7 separate regions of the Homo sapiens genome follow, and all the other regions are linked to region 5. The links are contacts of gene promoters, found by promoter capture Hi-C in blood cells and fetal thymus (Javierre and others, 2016). All regions are on one chromosome and are shown on one strand. Each heading gives the region's core, a stretch centred on a gene start or on the middle of the fragment in contact. The rest is flanking DNA. Distances are from core to core; before and after follow the strand shown. Region 1 holds the start of SRD5A3 (steroid 5 alpha-reductase 3). Region 2 has its middle 98 kb from the start of LINC02358. Region 3 has its middle 7.4 kb from the start of CLOCK. Region 4 has its middle 2.5 kb from the start of TMEM165. Region 5 holds the start of REST (RE1 silencing transcription factor). Region 6 has its middle 5.0 kb from the start of EXOC1. Region 7 overlaps CLOCK (clock circadian regulator).

What was found. Contacts are between HindIII fragments. The CHiCAGO score rates a contact against its expected background, and 5 or more counts as called.
Region 1: the fragment with the promoter of SRD5A3 here is called in contact with the fragment with the promoter of REST in region 5 in 5 of 17 cell types (fetal thymus, activated CD4 T cells, total CD8 T cells and 2 more); the score reaches 11.4 in fetal thymus.
Region 2: a fragment that was not itself captured here is called in contact with the fragment with the promoter of REST in region 5 in 1 of 17 cell types (fetal thymus); the score reaches 5.6 in fetal thymus.
Region 3: a contact is called between a fragment that was not itself captured here and the fragment with the promoter of REST in region 5, in 5 of 17 cell types (naive CD8 T cells, non-activated CD4 T cells, activated CD4 T cells and 2 more). The highest score is 8.2, in naive CD8 T cells.
Region 4: a fragment that was not itself captured here is called in contact with the fragment with the promoter of REST in region 5 in 1 of 17 cell types (naive CD8 T cells); the score reaches 9.9 in naive CD8 T cells.
Region 6: a contact is called between a fragment that was not itself captured here and the fragment with the promoter of REST in region 5, in 8 of 17 cell types (total B cells, fetal thymus, non-activated CD4 T cells and 5 more). The highest score is 10.2, in total B cells.
Region 7: a fragment that was not itself captured here is called in contact with the fragment with the promoter of REST in region 5 in 1 of 17 cell types (non-activated CD4 T cells); the score reaches 5.1 in non-activated CD4 T cells.

The regions. Positions count from the first base shown.
Region 1 is chr4:55,344,866-55,347,565 of GRCh38, reverse strand. SRD5A3 (steroid 5 alpha-reductase 3) reads right to left here and starts at 1,324. Exons shown (of 5, transcript NM_024592.5): 1 at 1,009-1,324. The coding sequence starts at 1,229. RefSeq lists silencers at 742-1,011, 1,222-1,391 and an enhancer at 843-1,603. The HindIII fragment of the contact is 3,550 bases long and covers 1-2,368 here.
Region 2 is chr4:54,941,672-54,944,371 of GRCh38, reverse strand. No RefSeq gene overlaps it. Among named protein-coding and RNA genes, the nearest start is that of LINC02358, 98 kb to the right of the region's middle. The HindIII fragment of the contact is 4,216 bases long and covers 1-2,700 here.
Region 3 is chr4:55,552,990-55,555,689 of GRCh38, reverse strand. No RefSeq gene overlaps it. Among named protein-coding and RNA genes, the nearest start is that of CLOCK, 7.4 kb to the right of the region's middle. The HindIII fragment of the contact is 8,802 bases long and covers 1-2,700 here.
Region 4 is chr4:55,392,062-55,394,761 of GRCh38, reverse strand. No RefSeq gene overlaps it. Among named protein-coding and RNA genes, the nearest start is that of TMEM165, 2.5 kb to the left of the region's middle. The HindIII fragment of the contact is 2,154 bases long and covers 268-2,421 here.
Region 5 is chr4:56,906,485-56,909,323 of GRCh38, reverse strand. REST (RE1 silencing transcription factor) reads right to left here and starts at 1,424. Exons shown (of 4, transcript NM_005612.5): 1 at 1,111-1,424. RefSeq lists enhancers at 1-107, 1,038-1,967 and silencers at 198-1,047, 1,158-1,547, 1,647-1,941. The HindIII fragment of the contact is 2,443 bases long and covers 1-1,879 here.
Region 6 is chr4:55,847,230-55,850,041 of GRCh38, reverse strand. No RefSeq gene overlaps it. Among named protein-coding and RNA genes, the nearest start is that of EXOC1, 5.0 kb to the left of the region's middle. The HindIII fragment of the contact is 6,305 bases long and covers 1-2,812 here.
Region 7 is chr4:55,531,866-55,534,565 of GRCh38, reverse strand. All of the region lies in intron 1 of CLOCK (clock circadian regulator), which reads left to right. Among named protein-coding and RNA genes, the nearest start is that of CLOCK, 14 kb to the left of the region's middle. The HindIII fragment of the contact is 5,837 bases long and covers 1-2,700 here.

The sequences.
Region 1 (2,700 bases), core at 75-2,574, 1.6 Mb after region 5:
GTCTCCAATGCCTGATCTCAGATGATCTTCCTGCCTTCATTCCAAGTAGCTGGCACTACAGGCACACGCCACCAAGCCCTGCCAATTTTTTGTATTTTCAGGAGAGACGGAGTCTCACTATATTTCCCAGCCTGGTCTCGAACTCCTGAACTCAAGCGATCCGCCTGCCTCAGCCTCCTAAAGTGCTGGGATTACAGGCGTGAGCCACTGCGCCCGGCCTAAGATGCATCTTAAGGGGCACTGTTCTATTTCTACCATCTCGAATAGTATTTGGCCAACTCTTTCCAGCTATGTCCTGAATTTAAAGTGGAAAAAGGAGAAGAAGAAAATTATAACAGGTCTCTATTTAAAACCTGACGATTTAATCCTTCGCTGAACTGGGTTACAGAATTTTTCGAAAGTCAAATGGAGCTTCGGGACGGGCCTGCCTATGACCTGCACCTTGGGCCACCTTCCCCAGGGGCACCTGCCAAGGTGCAGGTTAGGGCGACTCAGTCCTTTGTCCCCACTGCAAGGGTTGGGAAGAGAAACGGGGGAAGCCGAGGCCGAAGAGCCGGCCTAACTTCATTTCCACAAATGATTCCCGGTGACCTCAAGTTAGAGTATGAGCCACTGGAGTGCAGGGTACGGGAAAAAGGAGAATTTGGGGCAAGGGGCACTTCAATTTGCCGCCTAAATTCGCATGACCAGGCCTAAATTCGGATGCGTTGCCATTTCCCACAGGGAAAGGCTCCGTGCGGCTACCAGTTCACATTCCTCCAGCTGAGTGCAAGCGGCTCCGCTCTCCCTCGGCGTCCGCGGACACCCGGGCACTGCTCCCCGGAGCCACGCAGCAGCCGGGGCATGGCCGGGGCCAGGCCGAGGGAGCGCCGTGCTGCGCCCGGGAACCCGCCAGGGCCTCCCAGGCCGGGTCCCGCCTCTGCTGCCCCCTGCTGGCTGCCCGCGAGCCGGGGCGCCCCGAACTCTCAGCGCCTTGACCACCGCGGCTCGGGACCGGGGCGCGGTTACCTCTTGGGGACATCAAAGGCTCGGCAGGCGGCGGGGCGCGACGGCTCCCCACACTTGGTTTTCCCATAGCGGATCAGGTCCTGGAAGATCGCGCAGCCCGGGAGCAGGCCGGGCGGCAGGAGCTGCAGCAGTAGGGTCAGCAGGAAGGCGGCGGTCAGCGTGAGCCACACCGCGCGCAGCGGGTTCAGCGCCGAGTGCTCGGCCTCCGCCCAGGGAGCCATGGCCCGCGTGCCCGCCTTCCGCGCTGCTGGCGCCCCCACCGCCCGCTAGCCCGCGGAAGAGCGGCCACTAGCGCGCGGCGCACCGGTCTCAGCCTAGCGGGACGTCGGTGACGCGGCGCGGGGCGGGGACGCGCAGAGCCCCTCCCGGACTCGCCGCTCAGCCGCGGAGGTCCTTGGTCCTGGTCGCGCTGGCGCTGGGTGGTCGCTCGCAGTCCCTAATCTGGGCATGGGGATTCTTAGATGGAGCTCCAGAATATGATTCATCAGAAGCAAAGACGCAAAACAGACGAGACCACGTGTCTGCCACTCTTATCAACATTATCTCCAAAGCAAAAAATGGAAACCTTACATGTTGCATTTTAGTTTATTTAGCTAAATTATGATACACTGACATGTTAGAATATCATGCAGTCATTGAGAATTATTATGACGAGTGTAGAAACAGGGAAAGCTGTTTAGGAAACAATATGTGAAGTGAAAAACAAAACCAACCATAAAAATACATAGCTATGATTGCAAACAACTATATTAATATGAATGTGTGTATATATGGATAAAGAAGGCAGATCACACCCAAAAATGAATAATTATGTTAGGATGCTGGAAATGTGTTGGATATGTGTATAATGTAAACATGTAGACAAGTAATTGCACATAATAATAAAAATCATAGTGGTAAAAACTGTGTTTAAAAAACAGCAGTCGCTTACCAATAGGGTTCCAATCCTTAGAAGCAAAGTTTTTAAATTCCATCAGCTGTTTCCTGTAACATTTATCTCAGGTAGTGACAATGCTATTTATTGACTCACTGATTTTAAACAACACTGATTTTATTTACTATAAGTGAAAATCTAGCTCTTTTAAGTATTTAAAAGTCTTTAAAATGTTAATTCTGAAGTATTGTATGCCTACTGTATGACAGGCATCATTTTGGATACTGAGGACAGAGGGGTTTACAAGATAATTGTCACTGCTTATTTGGAGCTTACATTTTTGAGATTGGGTGGTGGGTGAGAAGTGGAAGAGGGGAGAGGTAGCCAACTCATCACCCTTACCCCAATGAGATACCCGATATGTGTGTTGAATAAACATCAGGGTGGGTAGGTTAGTGGGACTTTGGACTGTTAAATGAGCAAGCTTTTAAAGTTTTCTTCTTTGTGCAAAAGACACCTAAGGCTTTACCCGTCCTTTGACAGCCAGGTGATTAAGGATGGTTAAATTGGCATTCTAGCTAGGACAATGAGGCCTTATTGAGTGATCCTGGATCTCTTTTGCGGGAGTCACCCTTTCACTGTTTCTTTCTTTTCTTTTTTTTTTTTTTGAGATGGAGTCTCGCTTTGTCGCCCAGGCTGGAGTGCAGTGGCCTGATCTCTGCTCACTGCAAGCTCTGCCTCCCAGGTTCACACCATTCTCCTACCTCAGCCTCCCGAATAGCTGGGACTACAGGTGCCCCCCCAACCACGCCTGGCTT
Region 2 (2,700 bases), core at 14-2,513, 2.0 Mb after region 5:
TATTCCTCCTACTTCATTGAATTTGGCCTTGGCCCTGGCCCTGTGATGTTTTGGCCCATGGAATGTGGGCAGAAGTAACAATGTTCTGGTCTTATAGACCAGCTGAGTCTATAAGAGGCATGGTGAGTTGCTGCCAGTCCTCTTGAGGTTCTATCTTCTGCCATGAGAGAAAAGCATGCCACCAGGCAATTGTCACCCTTTGACCTGAAATCGAGACGTGTAAAGCAGACCTGAAACAGACCCAAGCCTAGAGGCCAGAAAAGCTCAGGCAAGAGCAGCTGGGTACATCTAAACTACAGTGAATGGAAACATGAATACAACATGAATATTCATTATTTCAAGTCATGGAGAATGGGGGAATTATTTGTTATGCAGCATCACAGTAATAGTGGACACCTATGATGTGTTTTTTTTTTAAAAAAAGACAAATTGTCACAACCACTCTTTATGTACAGTATTTCCATTTTACATAAAGGAAAACCAAGGGTCTGAGAGGTTAGAAAACTAGTTTAAATTAATAACTGGTATATCCAGTATTAACATCTAGGTCTGCCTGATTCCAAAGCCTGTTCTCTTTCTACCTCCCTCATGTCATATCCAGAATATTGACACTATGCCACCTATAGAGATCCTTAACTAGCAAAAATTATGCTATTATAGCCAATAACTTTGCATTCTACTTACTAGAGCTAGGCAAGGAATCATTTTGCAAGATGGCATCCAAAATGTCTCTCGGCTCAACTGTCAGTTCCATAAAACGTTCTATTAAGCATAATTCATCCTTCCCTTTCTCCTCTATGCACTCCACACTTCCTGTTATTCAGAGTTGTAAGGTTTTAAAGAGGATTCACATTTCTCCAGGCCGAGATTACCTATGGCTGCAATAGAATTTGACTTGCATTTTGTTTGTTGTCAATACAATAAGCCAGAAACAGATGCAGATCATTGAACTGAAGAATGACTTTTCTCTCTTGATGGCACTTTGAGCAGAAAAAACATCTTTGTCTGATGTATTGTTAAATGAAAAAAAAAAAGCAAAGTGCAGAACAATGTGTATTGTACATCATTTGCATATTTTAAAAGCATATATATGTGTATGTATGAATGTTTATATCTACATAGGATGTCTCTGGAAGAATACTCTAGAAATATAATGGCAGTTGCCTCTGGTTTGGGAACATGGTGGCTGATGGGGAGTGAGGGTGGGAGAGAGAATGATTTTTCACTGAATAGTCCTTTAAAGTTTTTTAAATTGGTGTTCAGGTTTATATTATTCCCCAAAATAATGAATACATTTTTTAAAGACAGAAACTACTTCTTCTACGGCCTATCCCTCTTCACTTTATTTAAGCTGTGTCTATTGTGTCTCAGACACACTGACTTTTTGAAGGGACTTGAGAGGAGGAGCTAGCCCAAGAGGAAGAGGCCCTTTCTGGCATGTTCTCTTCCTCTTGATAGTTGAGGTGCATATAAACATCTTCAAAGTCTCCACGGACAACAGAGACAACACGAACTGGAGCCCACTGGCTCCCACAAGTGAAAGTGATTTTCTTCATTCATGACTCAAAGGCTGTAGAGTAAAAAACAAGAACTGATCAGCTGTTTTTTTGTTTTGTTTTGTTTTTTTTTTTTTTTTTTGAGACGGAGTCTCGCTCTGTCGCCCAGGCTGGAGTGCAGTGGCGGGATCTCGGCTCACTGCAAGCTCCGCCTCCCGGGTTCACGCCATTCTCCTGCCTCAGCCTCCCAAGTAGCTGGGACTACAGGCGCCCGCCACTACGCCCGGCTAATTTTTTGTATTTTTAGTAGAGACGGGGTTTCACCGTTTTAGCCGGGATGGTCTCGATCTCCTGACTGTTTTGTTTTTAAAGACCAAACACGTCATCTTATCTTGTTCTGAGTGAGACAGCTACATGATGAACATCCTAAAAGTTGAAGACCTTGGATTTCCACCTGCAAGCCAACGATGTTTTTCTGTTAAATTCTAATCATATTATTAGAGTTTATTAATTGTTTTAACAAACAGACATCTATGTCCATTCATTTTTTTTCAAAGACAGGGTAAATAAATCAACTTTCAAATCATGTCCTTCTGCAAACACCAGCTGCACAGGAAAAGGAAGGCCGCCTGTTAGCAGCCTCTCGCTGAAGGGCTAGGCTGAGGCTGTCGGTGTGCATGCCCAGAGCAGAGCTGTCTGTTAATGAGTCCTACAGCTCACAGGAAAGAACCTCAGCGGAAAGCAAGAAGGCAGAACAATTGTGTGAACTTAGCTCCCTTTCTTATTCTCCAAACATCTGGCCACTGTATGTGTCATTTCTTTGATTCAAACTTGTTCTGGCGTTATTGATAGGGAAAATCTCCACCTGGGGGCTGGAAGGGACTGCTTCTTCATCAAAGAATAGTTAGCACAGACTCACTTTTAATAGCAAAATAATAGAGCAAGTCACTTATAAACCATGTTTCTGAAATTGCCCAGCCATGCTCTGCCAACTCTTTATGGGGAGAATAAGACAAAAGCTGGAAGCAAAGAGAGAGTAAAGAAAGCCCTTACGATTAGGGGTGAAGAAAAAACAAAGCCTGCAAGACGCCATCTTGGTGTTGGCTAACGATGGGGAAAATCTCTGCTGTTTAATATAGTGCATTTATAAACACAGATGTCAGGGACGGCAAGTTTATTTTTGTAGTTCTGCATCTTACATTTC
Region 3 (2,700 bases), core at 131-2,630, 1.4 Mb after region 5:
ATTACTAAGTATTCTCATTAATAGTTAAAGTATAGAATCATTAGAACACTACACCATGTAAGTTTCTAAATCCTGAGCAGAGGTGAGAAAAATATATTGTAGGATGACTTATATTTTAACAGTAATCACAGAAGAATTCATCATGAGAAAATATACATTAGTACACTGCAGAAGGCCTATAGGATGTTTCGTCTTGGCATAATAATGAACATCACTTTTAGAGGAAAGGTTGGTAAATCCAGCATATAATAGTTCAGTAACAGATTTTTTTCTACTTTGTTTGTATTCATGATCCATAATTCTCATTATGGATGTTCACTGATATTTGTAAGAGAATCTAGACTAGGTTTAAATGCCTAGATTACAAAAATAAATTGGTGAGAATTGAGGCAGTTGAACATTGAGTCAAGAAAAGGCTCTTTCTTGCTATTGGTGGGGGTTTAGGGATCTTAGAGGCTACAGAGAATCATGAAGTGGAAGGAAAGTTAAATACACATTTGAGTAAGGTAATGAGAATTTATTTCACCAGGTGAAATCAATTGATCTAATTCTGGGAAGGATTAGGAAAATTCTTCTGAGATACATCTTGGGACTAGATGGAGGAAAGTTCAGAGAGGTCACACACAGTGGTCTTTATTACAGCATTACACACACTTCAGGTAATTATCTAGTTTTATTTATCCAATTCCTGAACCTTCCAGAAATGGATGGATAAGTTACTATTCAGGATAAAAACAGCCGTGGAAATGAAAGGAAGAGCCATCTTCTAAAGTTACAATGTAACTCTAATGCCTATAATGCATATAACATCTAATGCATATAACCATATTTATCAAAATAACATTCATATACATTATTTTCCCCTCCAATTGAAACCAAATGCAGAAATTCCCCCAAATGTAGTCTTTTAAAAAGTAAATACATATTTGTTTTCTTTTTAAAGTTAAAAGAACAAAGGAAATAATAATAGTATTTAGGAGAGCTTAAAAAAGATATCTATTTCCCTTTGTCTTAACTCAGATCCACCAGGTGGCAGTAAGTTTTTACCCACAAACAGTTCTGGAGACTTTGACATTTGTAAAAATAATAAAATTATATCATGTTAGAACTGACTGCTTGTGATTTCAGCCCCGCTCTTTAGCAAAGTGCACACACACATTCTTTTAGCAAGGACTGATTGATGCCTACCAACACAGGTCACTACTACTTCCATACAGTGCTTCATGTATACATTCTCATTTGACTAGGGTAAAAATATTTGTCAGGATATGCAGAAATTATTTAATATGTAATATTGTTCCCCATTTTACTGAATGAATATTCAATGGGGTACAAAGTTAGTTTTTTTAATTGCCAATATTCAGTCATTTTTTGATCTATAAAAATTGATATTTTATCCTAATATTTTTGTCTATTTTTGCCAAGTGTGCTCTATTGAATCTCCCTTCTCTATAGTGCCTTTTTTGTCAAAATGTGGTAAATGTGGTCCTAGAATCAGCAGCATTCCTAAGGAGCTTGTTAGAAATGCAGAATCTCTGGCCCCATCCCAGACTAACTGAATCATAATTTTCATTTTAATGAGATCTCCAGGTGACACGCACATTAAAATTCGAGAAGCACTACACAGCAAATCCTTTAAAGACAACCTGAGCAACTTCTTTTACCCATCCCACAGTGTGGGTTATTAAGTCTGTCTAGTTGAACACTCCAGTGTCAGTTCCAAGCAAACATTCTCTGGCTGAACTCGTGACTTAAGCAACTCTGAAGATGAAAGGTGGGGTTTTTAACCAGTTTTTCCCTCTCCTTTTGAGGCAGGAGAATAAGGTCTGGAGGCAGGGAACCTAAGGCTGTTTCACTCCAACTTCTTAGAGCCAGATTTAAAGGAAAACCCTAACTTGCCATGCCTAAGTAACAAAAGGACCAGAGGCTACTTTGCAAACCCCCACCTTCTGTGCGTGGCAGATGGGAAATTGGCTGTCTGCAACCAATCACACTGCTTGCTGGCTGAGAGTTCGTTTGCAACTTTGTAACTTCACCTTAGCCTCTGATTGCTTGCTTTTGGCAACCACTCAGACCAATTGCAAGCCACCACTTCATGAAATGAAGTGGCCAATGGGAAGCCTCTAGCGGGTATTTGGACCGGAGAAGATTCTGAGCCACTACTCACGCCGGCTCCCACACTGTGAAGTGTACTTTCATTTTCAATAAATCCCTGCTTTCGTTCTTTAGTTGCTTTATTCTTTCTTTGCGGGGCGTTTTGTCCAATTCTTAGTTCAAAACGCAAAGAACTTGGACACCTTGCAGTCAAGACCCTCTATCAGTAACACTTTCAGGGCCTATCCCTCTAGTGTTGGGGACTGGGAGAGAGAATAGGGATGAAAGGGATAAATTTTCCTTAACTGTACAATGAATACTGCATCCAAATGTTCACTCTTTAATGGGGCACATTGAGTTCTCCTAGAAACTCTGAAACAGCTTCCCAACTGCACAGTCCCTCGATCAACACAGGCGATGGAGCAGTCTTAGCTCTATCTCTGCTAACTCTCTTAGTTTCCTCTCCCAGAAGTAAATCCAGCCTCTTGCTGCTAGAATTTCTTTCCCCCTTCAGGATCAAGATAGTTCAAACCTGGACAGCATTTTCTACGCAGCATCGATTGACCCATGAGAAACTTACACATCCTCGGTATCCTTGCTATACCA
Region 4 (2,700 bases), core at 95-2,594, 1.5 Mb after region 5:
CTTCCCGAGTAGCTGGGATTACAGGCATGCTCCACCATACGCGGCTAACTTTGTAATTTTAGTAGAGATGGGGTTTCTCCATGTTGGTCAGGCTGGTCTCGAACTCCAGACCTCAGGTGATCTGCCGGCCTCGTCCTCTCAAAGTGCTGGGATTACAGGTGTGAGCCACCGCGGCCGGCCTCCGTCCATGTTATTCTGTCCGTAATTCCCCTTCTTCCATTCTCTCCTTGTAAACTCCTACTCATACTTCCAAAACCTATTCAAGCTTCCACTCTCAGAACTTTTCCCCAACACATGGCGTTACAGAATTTGTCACTTGTTCCTTCATGTTATTGCTTTATGCATTCTTCTATTACTGTGTAAGTAGGATGCCTCCACTTACAGTTTGGGGTGTGTTAAAAGAAAAACCTTAGACAAATTAAACTTAACAGCGTTTAATCAAGCAAAGAACCCAAAGAATGATCTGCAAATCAAAAAGACCCCAAATCAAAGTAAGTTCAGAGAGGCTCCAGTCTTGCCGAGTGGTCGGAAAAAATAAAGTGACTTACAGAAAACATAATTGAGGGACAGAAACAGCTGGATTGGTTGTAGCTCAGGTTTGCCCTATTTGAACACGGTTTGAACAGTTGGCCACTTGTGATTGGCCAGAACTCTGTGATTGGTACAAGAATAGGTTACAGTCTGTTTACATACCCAATTAGGCTACAGTTCACCATGTATGGGGAAACCTTTAGGCCTAACTTAAAATATGTAAGGAGGCAGCTTTACACTAAATTTAACAGATGCAACTATCATCCCTGGAGTGCAAATGTTTGAGCTTTCAGAAGCCAGTAATAACATAAAACCCAGAAGCCCAAACTTCAACTACCTCCCCTTAATGCATACAGGATTTGCTGTGCTTAAAAGGGGCCTGAAAGGGAGGCTTGAGGTCCCAAGGGAGGGACCTGAAAGGAGCAGCTTAGGCTGAAGACAGAGCCAGAAGGGTGAATGTAGCAAAACTGGCTGTGTGTCCCTCATTGCTGAAAGCTGCTTTGTTTATTTTCTAGGATGGGCTGCCCACACTCCAGGGCTTTCTCACAGGAAGGACTCCTGGCCAAATTCAGTCATCTCAACATATGAGGCAGTGAGGACTTCTGGGCTACAGCTGCAGGATGCTGAAGCACCAGCTGCTGAGCATGCAGTGGTTCAGGGGCAAGGCAGCAAAGCTATTTGGCAGAAGATGTAACATAAATGGAGATAGAGCATTGGCGAACTGGCACAGTGGTGTCAGCAAAGCATCAGAATCTGGGCCAGAGTGAGACCTTTCTAGCCTGCCCCAGTGTCACCCTGATCCAAGGGCCTTCAGGTGCTGCCAGGCTAGGCTCTAGGTGTCTGATTCTCATGGGATCTGGTATTTCTGTTTCCACACACATCTACCTCCTGGGATCCGTGCTCAGGCGTGCTAAATCGAGGCTGGCTCCAGTTTTCACCACCTTGAGGGTTTAGAGCCATCATCCTTCTAGTCCTCATTGGTGACTAACTCCCTTAAAAAAAGCAATTAAAAAACTATAGGAGCTTTCCTGATACCTTTCTTGAAGGACAACTGAAGCTACTTATTTAACCCCCTACCCAATAAGGATGTGGGTGGCGCAACAATTCCAAGATGATATATTTTTTAATCATAGCCTACACCGATATAGTCTTACTAAAATGTAACCACTGTCAGGCATCCTATGGAAAGAAACCCTACTACATGTGCATTACATTGTATTTTATTTAATTAATTTATTTATTTATTTTTGAGGTGGAGTCTCGCTCTGTTGCCCAGGCTGGAATGCAGTGGCAAGATCTCGGCTCACTGCAGCCTCCGCCTCCCGGGTTCAAGCAATTCTCCTGCCTCAGCCTCCTGAGTAGCTGGGATTACAGGCATGTGCTACACGCCCCACTAATTTTTTGTATTTTTAGTAGAGACGGGTTTACCATGTTAGCCAGGATGGTCTTGATCTCCTGACCTCGTGATCCGTCCGCCTTGGCCTCCCAAAAGTGCTGGGATTATAGGCATGAGCCACTGTGCCTGACCTATATTTTATTTTTTATTTATTTATGTAGAGATGGAGTCTCGCTCTGTCACCCAGGCTGGAGTGCAGTGGTGCGATCTCAGCTCACTGCAACCTCTACCTCCCAGGTTCAAGCGATTCTCCTGCCGCAGCCTCCAAAGTAGCTGGGACTATAGGCGCCCGCCACCATGCCTGGCTAATTTTTGTATTTTTAGTAGAGACAGGGTTTCACCATGTTAGCAAGGCAGGTCTCGAACTCCTGACCTCAAGTAATCCATCCACCTCGGCCTCCCAAAGTGCTGGGATTGCAGGTGTGAGCCACTGAGCCGGGCCTGCACTGTATTTTAATGTCTTTTATTCCAACACCCTTACTAAGCCTTAAGCTTCTAGATGGTAAGGTTATGCCTTTTATCTTTATATTTCTAGCACCTAGTAGATTATATAAGAAGGTAATGGGAATAGTTATCATTAAAGTAGTAGTAAAACTTTATTGAATGCTATTCTGATCCAGTCAGAGCACTAAGTGTGTTACATGAATTATTTCTATCCTCCTTTTTGCAAATGAGAAATCTGAGACTTAGGTCAAGGAACTTTCCTCAAATTACACAGCTAGTAAGTAGCAGAATTATGCCTCATACCTGTTTGTTGAATTCACCTATGCTCC
Region 5 (2,839 bases), core at 175-2,674:
GGCATTCGGCCATTTTCTCAAAATACCAAACACAAAGCAGCTCTTTGCAAACTCGGGCGCTCTCGCTTCCTCTCGCCTCGGCCCGCTCACTGCACACATTTACACACCAACTCGCGGGAGTCGCCCCGACACTCGTCCTGAGCCTTTTCCTGCGCTCTCCAACACTAAAACGGGGGAGGGGATCAAGCTCGAGGCGCTGTTTGGCCGGAACCAGTCCTCCCCGAGTCCAGGCAGCCCCCTCCCCAGCCCTAGGGCCCCCGTCCCGGGAGAGGACGGAAAGTTACCGCGCAGCCGGCGTCCGGGCTTCTCCGACCGCCCCCGGGCCCCTCCGACCGCCCCGGGGCTCGCCCAACGCCCAGGGCCGGGGAGGCTCCGCGGGCGCCCTCGCGAGGCGTCGGGCTCCGAGCGCCGGAGGGGGCCCCCACACGGGCCAGCCGCCACCCCCGCGCCCCGGAAGTTTGCGAACTTCACTCCCCCACGGCGCCCGGCAGGACGCGCGCCCCAGCCCCGCCAGCTCCAGCGGTCGGGTGGCCGGACGCGGGGGCCAGCGGCGCCGGACGGCTGAAGCGCAGAAATCGCTGTCCAGCCCCGCAGGCGGAACCGCCCGGGCCCCGGGGCTGACTCAACCCGCCCGGCCGCACTCAACGGCGCCTTCCGGCGACAGGGAGAGGCCCTGGGGGAGGGGGCCAGGAGGGCCGCGGGCCGGCGCGGGGCTGCGGTGGGACCCGGGGGCAGGAGGAGGAAGCAGAGGAAGTTTCAGGACTACGGGCCCGAGCAGCTCCGCTCCTTGGCCTCAAAGGACCTGACTCGGTGGAGCGTCCGGGCCAGCGCGGAGGCGGCGTCCCAGCCTCCAGTGGGGAGGGGGTCCAGGCGACGCGCTGCTCCCAACAAACGCCCCCAGCCCCCGGGCGGCTGCTGTGTAACCCGATCCTGCTCGGCCGCCAGCCCCCGCCCGGCGGGGCCGCCGCCGCCGGAGCCACAGTATCTGCAAATCAGCCCTGGACAGCGCCTGACTCCGCGTCCTTCCGCGCCCTCCCCGTCCCGCCACTGCCGCCGCCCGGGCGGCCCTCCCCCACCCTGACCGAGCCCCCAGCCCAGCGCCCCACTTACCGGCCTTCCTCGGTGAGGAGGGGCGGGCGACCCTGAGTCGCCGCTCCTTCTCCGACTACTTTTCTTTGTTGCTGGAGTTTCGGGGGAGAGGTGGGGGAGGGTGGTAAAGTTGGGTGCTGGGGCCGTCGTGGACCAAGAAGGCCCAGGAGTGGGGCTGCAGAGGGTGCTCAGGCCTCCGGGCCTCGCCCTGCCGTCTCGGCTGCGGCAGCCGCCGCCAGGGTCTGGGGCCCCGGGCCTCGGCGGCGCTCGCTCCGCTGCTGCGCCGCGAGCTCGCGGCAGCCGCACATTCCAACACAGGACGCTGCGCCGCGCACCCAGTCCGCGCCGCCGCCGCCGCCACCGCCCGCGGGACACGCCCCCTCCGACGCCCGCGCGCGCCCGCGAGACACGCCCCCTCCGACGCCCGCGCGCGTGGCCGCTAGGCGCGCCCCGCCCCTCTACCAAGCAAGGAGTGCCCCAGTCTCCAGCTCGCCTGGGGGCGCGTCTAGGGGGAGCCGCCCGTAATCCTCCCGGCCCCTCACTCCTGCCCTTAGGTCAGAAAAGAGGCGGGCCCCACTCCCTTTCTCGATTTCTATTACAAACAAACAACAAAAGTTCCCCCCAGCCCTGGCGTGCATGCATGAGAATAGAGCTGTTAAAAGAAGAATCCGCAGGCTTTGACGGGTCTCTTTAGAGCTATTGTCACCGGCCTCTCAAGTCTAAAGCGCTCCAAGATACCCTTCAGATCTCTTCAAGTCTCCACCCATAGCTGTCCTTGACTAATTAAGCTTCGTTTTAAGCGTCTGCGGTAAAAAAAAAAAAAAAAAAAAAAAGTCTTCCAAATTTCAAACTACCGGAGGGGGAATGCAGTCAGTTTGGGAGAAGTGAGAAGAAAACGTTTCAGGAAGGAGGTTATGGACTCAGAAAGCGTGAGCGTGAGGACTGAGGGGACAGATCCCTAGACGTGGCAGGTAGCAGGTCATTGCTGAGCCCGGAAAGCACGACTGCAGGGGAGGAATTACCCTCAGATGACAGAAGAAAAGGTGGTGAGGACGGGGAGGCTGCCTGGGGCCACGGTGTGTCGGAGTAACCGGGCTCACGTCTATGAAGCGGGATAACCAAGCGGAATGCCTAGCCCATAGTCATGTGCTAACAAAAACAAAAACAACAAAAAAGAACAGAGAGAGAGTAATTCCACCCCCTTTCACACCTGAAAGAGCTTCTCAGTCTGCCTTTGATACCTTCCTAAACGTCAGTCGTAAGTCACACCTGTCCTCAGAAGCATAGTGGCTCCCCATGACTACAAGCTTAAAGCTTAAACCCCTTAGTGTGGCGTTCAAGCCCCTACTTAACTTGACCTAGATAAGTCTGACTATTGCTTGGTATTACAACATAAGTAGCAAGTGCTATGGGGGTTTGCCAGTAGGAAGATGGATCCCAAGAGGTTCTAGAAACTTTTCACAGTAGATGTATTCAGTCTGACCTTGGAGAATGAGGAAAACTTCAACAGGTGGAAAGTAGGGCAAGGAACACTCTACACAGTGAAAAGGGCAAGCTCAAAATCCCAAAGCAGTTGTTAAGACATCCCAGCTTCTCCTCAGGGTACCTCACTTCCTTCTCTTTGAAGTTCCTTTATTTGTTTCTCTTAGGGCAGGGCTTCCAGACTCTTCATTTCCTGGTATACCCACGTAGGACCTCTGTTTCCCTCTATCTGGACAATATATTACTAATTAATGCAGTCTCCGATGCA
Region 6 (2,812 bases), core at 120-2,619, 1.1 Mb after region 5:
TAAACTAAAAGAGCACCCTGTAACAAACGCTGAGCAGGGCTTCAGGAGCTGTAAACGTTCACCCCTATACGCTGCCGTGGAGTCCGAGCCCCACAACCTGCCCTTCTGCATGCTCCCCCTAGAGGTTTGAGCAGTGGGGCACTGAAGAAGTGAGTGACACCCCCATCGCATGCCCTGCGATGGGGATAAGGGAATTTTCCTGTTTCGGAATCACACAGACCAGGGGTTCAAATCTGGTCTTTACCCTTTACTGAGTCAGTGACCACAGGGCAAGTTACTTAACTCTTCAGAGCCTCAATTTTCTCATCTGTATATAAAAAATAGTAATCCCATCTTGGGCATATTTGCTAAGATGTTTCTTGTAAAGCACTTGTCTCATTGCTTGGCACACAGTATAAGCATTCAATAAATGGTAGCTGTTATTACATGCAGATTGGTTTAGTAGATTAAATTGGGCAGATTTACCTACTTGAAAAACATGTAATAGTCACCCAAGGAGGTTCTGCCCAAGGAGGTTCTGAGGTCCCGCTTCCTTTACATAGAAAGAAGGCTGTATATATTAACATGTATCACATATGAGGGAATCTCATACTTACATAGCATGAAATAACTTTTCCATTGTTAGTAAGCTCCAAGGGAAAAGTCTCTTCTAAATGGTGAAGAGTAGTAAATATTGATGATTTATAGAAGTTAATTGTTTCCTCAGAGAAATCGCTCTTGTTACTGTGCACCAGTAAAGCAGAGGCCTGAAGATTGTAAAGACTTCATGTTCTTCTCAAGACCTGAATCCATTTTGCACCTTTTGAAGGGGGAGGGAGACCATCCTTTTCCTCAGCTTGAACCCCTGAAGGAGGAAGGGCAAAAGTGCCCCACTCCCTCTAGGGCTGTCTCTGATGACATCGGTGGTAGCTCCACTGGCTTTGAGGACATTGTTTAGTGAGAAAACTCATAGATTTCATGGAAGTGGACTTTCATATTTCATATTTGGATGCCTCTTTTACTGGCATCCAAACTGTCTTTTGATATCAGTCTGATTAATTTTAATTTGGGTATAAAGCTAAGGGATCTTCAAATGTTTAAAATGTTCAAATGTTTAAAATCATGTAGATTTATATAATTTCAATTTGAAATGTGACATTTTAAACATTTGACATTTATTATGACACTTACTTTGATTTTTCTCTTCCCTATTTCTTAGCATTGTTTTCTTATAATTTAATGATGCATGTTCCTGTCTAAGAAAGGAAGAACTTTTTTTCAGAGATGTAAGACTATTAGTATCAACACAAAGAACACCAAGTAACTCTTTGTGGGGGTGGGGGGTGGACAATGAGAGTTACAATGCTGCACTTCCCAGATTCTTTATTTTCTTTTTCGTTCTGTTTTTTCTGGAGACAGTCTTGCTCTGTCACCCAGGCTGGAGTGCAATGGCGTTAGCTCACTGCAACCTCTGCCTCCCAGGTTCAAGCGATTCTTCTGCCTCAACCTCCTAAGTAGCTGGGACTACAAGCACATGCCACCATGCCTGGGTGATCTTTTGTATTTTTAGTAGAGATGGGGTTTAGTAGAGATGGGGTTTTGCCATGTTGCCCAGGCTGGTCTCAAACTCCTGGGCTCAAGTGATCTGCCCACCTAGGCCCAGATTCTTTATTTTCTAAATATCTTTAACAACTGCAGCAAGGAAGAAATGTCTCTACTGTTAAATACATAAAGCAATTGGTGTTTGTTTTAGGTTTTGTTAGAAATAGATGTAAATATCCCCACGTGATACTTTCCATTTCTTTGTAGCTTTATGGGAGGAAGTCAGGGAGTCACTAAATAAGGATGGTAATTACCTGTATCAATATTAATTAAGTAAATATTATAAATAAATATTAGTTAGATAGTAGATGCACATTTGACATCATTATTGGAAAGTAATATAATGTGACATACAAATAAATATAAGGAAGGCAAAGATTGGCTTGCAGAATCACATTGCGTCTCAATGCTTTTCTTATGCAGCTGCCTTATTTAATATACATATTGTAGAGTGATATTACAATAAAGGGCAGTCATTACAAATGCACAGTGCTGAACTCCGTATACACATTCTAGGAGATTCTCTCAGAAGTGCAGAAATCATCTCTTTTTTTTTAATTTTTTTATTTTTTATTATTATTATACTTTAAGTTTTAGGGTACATGTGCACATTGTGCAGGTTAGTTACATATGTATACATGTGCCATGCTGGTGTGCTGCACCCACTAACTAGTCATTTAACTTTAGGTATATCTCCTAATGCTCTCCCTCCCCCCTCCCCCCACCCCACAACAGTCCCCAGAGTGTGATGTTCCCCTTCCTGTGTCCATGTGTTCTCATTGTTCAATTCCCATCTATGAGTGAGAACATGCGGTGTTTGGTTTTTTGTCCTTGAGATAGTTTACTCAGAATGATGATTTCCAATTTCATCCATGTCCCTACAAAGGACATGAACTCATCATTTTGTATGGCTGCATAGTATTCCATGGTGTATATGTGCCACATTTTCTTAATCCAGTCTATCATTGTTGGACATTTGGGTTGGTTCCAAGTCTTTGCTATTGGGAATAGTGCCGCAATAAACATACGTGTGCATGTGTCTTTATAGCAGCATGATTTATAGTCCTTTGGGTATATACCCAGTAATGGGATGGCTGGGTCAAATGGTATTTCTAGTTCTAGATCCCTGAGGAATCGCCACACTGACTTCCACAATGGTTGAACTAGTTTACAGTCCCACCAACAGTGTAAAAGTGTTCCTATTTCTCCACATCCTCTCCAGCACCTGTTG
Region 7 (2,700 bases), core at 172-2,671, 1.4 Mb after region 5:
GAAAACCAAATCAAGGTGTAGGGGATTAGAGTCTATTAGCATGTGAGGATAGAATGGATATCTTAGTTTTGGCTGCTATAACAAAAATACCCAGGAGTATTAGATTCTGCAGTACAACAGCACATAGACTGTGTGCTGTTGAATTTGGTTTGCTAGTATTTTTTTAAGGGTAAAAAAATCAGTATTCATTAGGTTTATTGCTGTAGCTTTCTTTTTTTGTGGTATCTTTGTCTGATTTTGATATCAGGGTAATGCTGGCCTTTTAGAATGAGTTTGGAAATGTTCTCTCACATTTAGTTCTTTGGAAGAGTTTGAGGAGGATTGGCTTGGTGATAGTTGAGAGTAGAATAAGCACTCGTTTCAAGTTTGGTATTGTTGCACTGATGCTCCACTTGACTCGCTGCATATTACAACTGTAATTATTAATTACTTCAGTGCTGTTAATCATAGGGTAGTACAAGCTAGATTAAATGGCAAACAAATGTACAAAACATTTTATTACTATTGGGTTCTTTATACATTAATGTTTTAAGACACAGGCAAAAAGGAAAACATCGAGAGTTTACTGAAAAGCAAAAGTTTTGTAGTGTGTCTTGAATTTAGTAAACAAGTGTCCACTCTCCTGCATCTTAAACAAGCACTTTGTTTTTGTTTTATTTTTTTGAGATGGAGTCTCACTCTGTTGCCCAGGCTGGAGTGTAGTGGCATGATCTTGGATTACTGCAACCTCTGCCTCCCAGGTTCAAGCTGTTCTCCTGCCTCAGCCTCCCGAGTAGCTGGGATTACAGGCGTGTGCCACCATGCCTGGCTAATTTTTGTGCTATTAGTAGAGATGGGATTTCACCATGTTGGCCAAGCTGGTCTCAAACTCTTGACCTCAGGTGATCCACCTGCCTTGGCCTCCCAAAGTGCTGAGATTACAGGCACGAGCCACCATGCCTGGCCTTAAGCACTTTTTCACGGATTTACAAACAATCCCAAAAATCTTTAGTCAGTGATATGGTTTGAATTACTTTCTAGGCAGAAAAATATTCTAATATGTATCTAAAATACTTAATTAAAAAGTGTTGAAAAAATATTCGGAAATCAAAACTTTTAGGTCATCATAAAATAAATTAGTAATATCATATTTTGGCTTCATTCTTTGGCATGTGGATATTCAGTTTTCCCAACACTGTTTGTTGTAGAGACTGTTTTTTCTCCATTGGGTAGTCTTGGCACCCTTGTCGCAAGTCATTTGGTGGCATGTGCGAGCGTTTATTTCTGTTCTGTTCCATTGGTCTGTAGCTCTGTATTTATGTCAGTACCACACTGTCTTGATTACTGTTGCTTTGTAGTGTGTTTTGAAATAAGAAAGTATGAGGCCTCCAAATTTTTGGTGGTTTTTCAAGACTGGTTTGGCTACTTGGGGGTCCCTTGAGATTCTGTATGAATTTTAGGATGGTTTTGTTTCTATTTCTGCAAAAAAAATGTCATTGAGAATTTGACAGGGATTACATTGAATCTATAGATTGCTTTAGGTAGTATGGACATTTTAACAGTATTAACTCTTTCAGTTTAAAAACACGGAATGTTTTTCCATTTATTTGTATTCTCTCTTTGATTTCTTTTAGCGATGTTTTGTAGTTTTCAGAGTACAAGTCTTTTATCTCCTTGGTTAAGTTTATTCCTAGTATTTTTATCCACACTACCCCCCCGACCCGACCCCTTTTCTTTGTTTAAAGAGATAGGGTCTCTGTCACCTAGGCTGGAGTGCAGTGGCACAATCATGGCTCACTGTGACCTTGAACTCCTGGGCTCAAATGATCCTCCTACCTCAGCCTCCCAAGAAGCTGGGACTAAAAGTATATGCTTCCACGCTCGGCTAATTTTTTGGTATTTTTATAGAGAGATAAGGTCTCAAATTCCTGGCTTCAAGCAGTTCTCCCACCTTGGCCTCCCAAAGTGCTAGGATTACAGGTTTGAGCCACCATGGTTTGCCTTTCCTCTTTTGATACTATAGTAAATTGGGATTTTTTTTTTTAAATTTTCCTTTCCAGTTGGTCATTTTTGGTGTATAGAAATGCAACTGATTTTTGTGTGTTGATTTCGGATCCTGAAACTTTGCTGAAATCATGTATTAGTACTAACAGTTTTTTTGTGGATTCTTCTTTAGGGCTTTCTGCATATAAATCATGTCATCTGTATACAGAGATAATTTTCTTTCTTATTTGAGTGCCTTCTATTTATTCTTCTTGCCTAATTGCTCTATCTAGGACTTCTGGTACTGTGTTGAATAGAAGTGATGAGAGTGGGCATCCTCGACTTGCTCCTAATCCTAGGAGAAGTGTTCAGTCTTTTACCATTGAATAGGATGTTAGCTGTGGGATATTCATATATGGTGTTTATTATGTCGAGGTAGTTTCCTTCTATTCTTCATTTATTGAGTGTTTTTATCATGGAAGGGTGTTGAATTTTGTCAAATGCATTTGTTCGTCAATTGGAATCATGTGGTTTTTGTGCTTCATTTTATTAATGTGGTATATTACCCTAATTGATTTTTGTATTGTGAACCATCCTTGAATTTCTGGTATAAATCCCACTTGGTCATGGTATATAATCCTTTTAATGTGCTGTTGAATTTGGTTTGCTGGGGTTTTTTTTGTTTTTGTTTTTGTTTTTTTTAACATTTAAAAAATCACTATTCATTATGGTTATTAC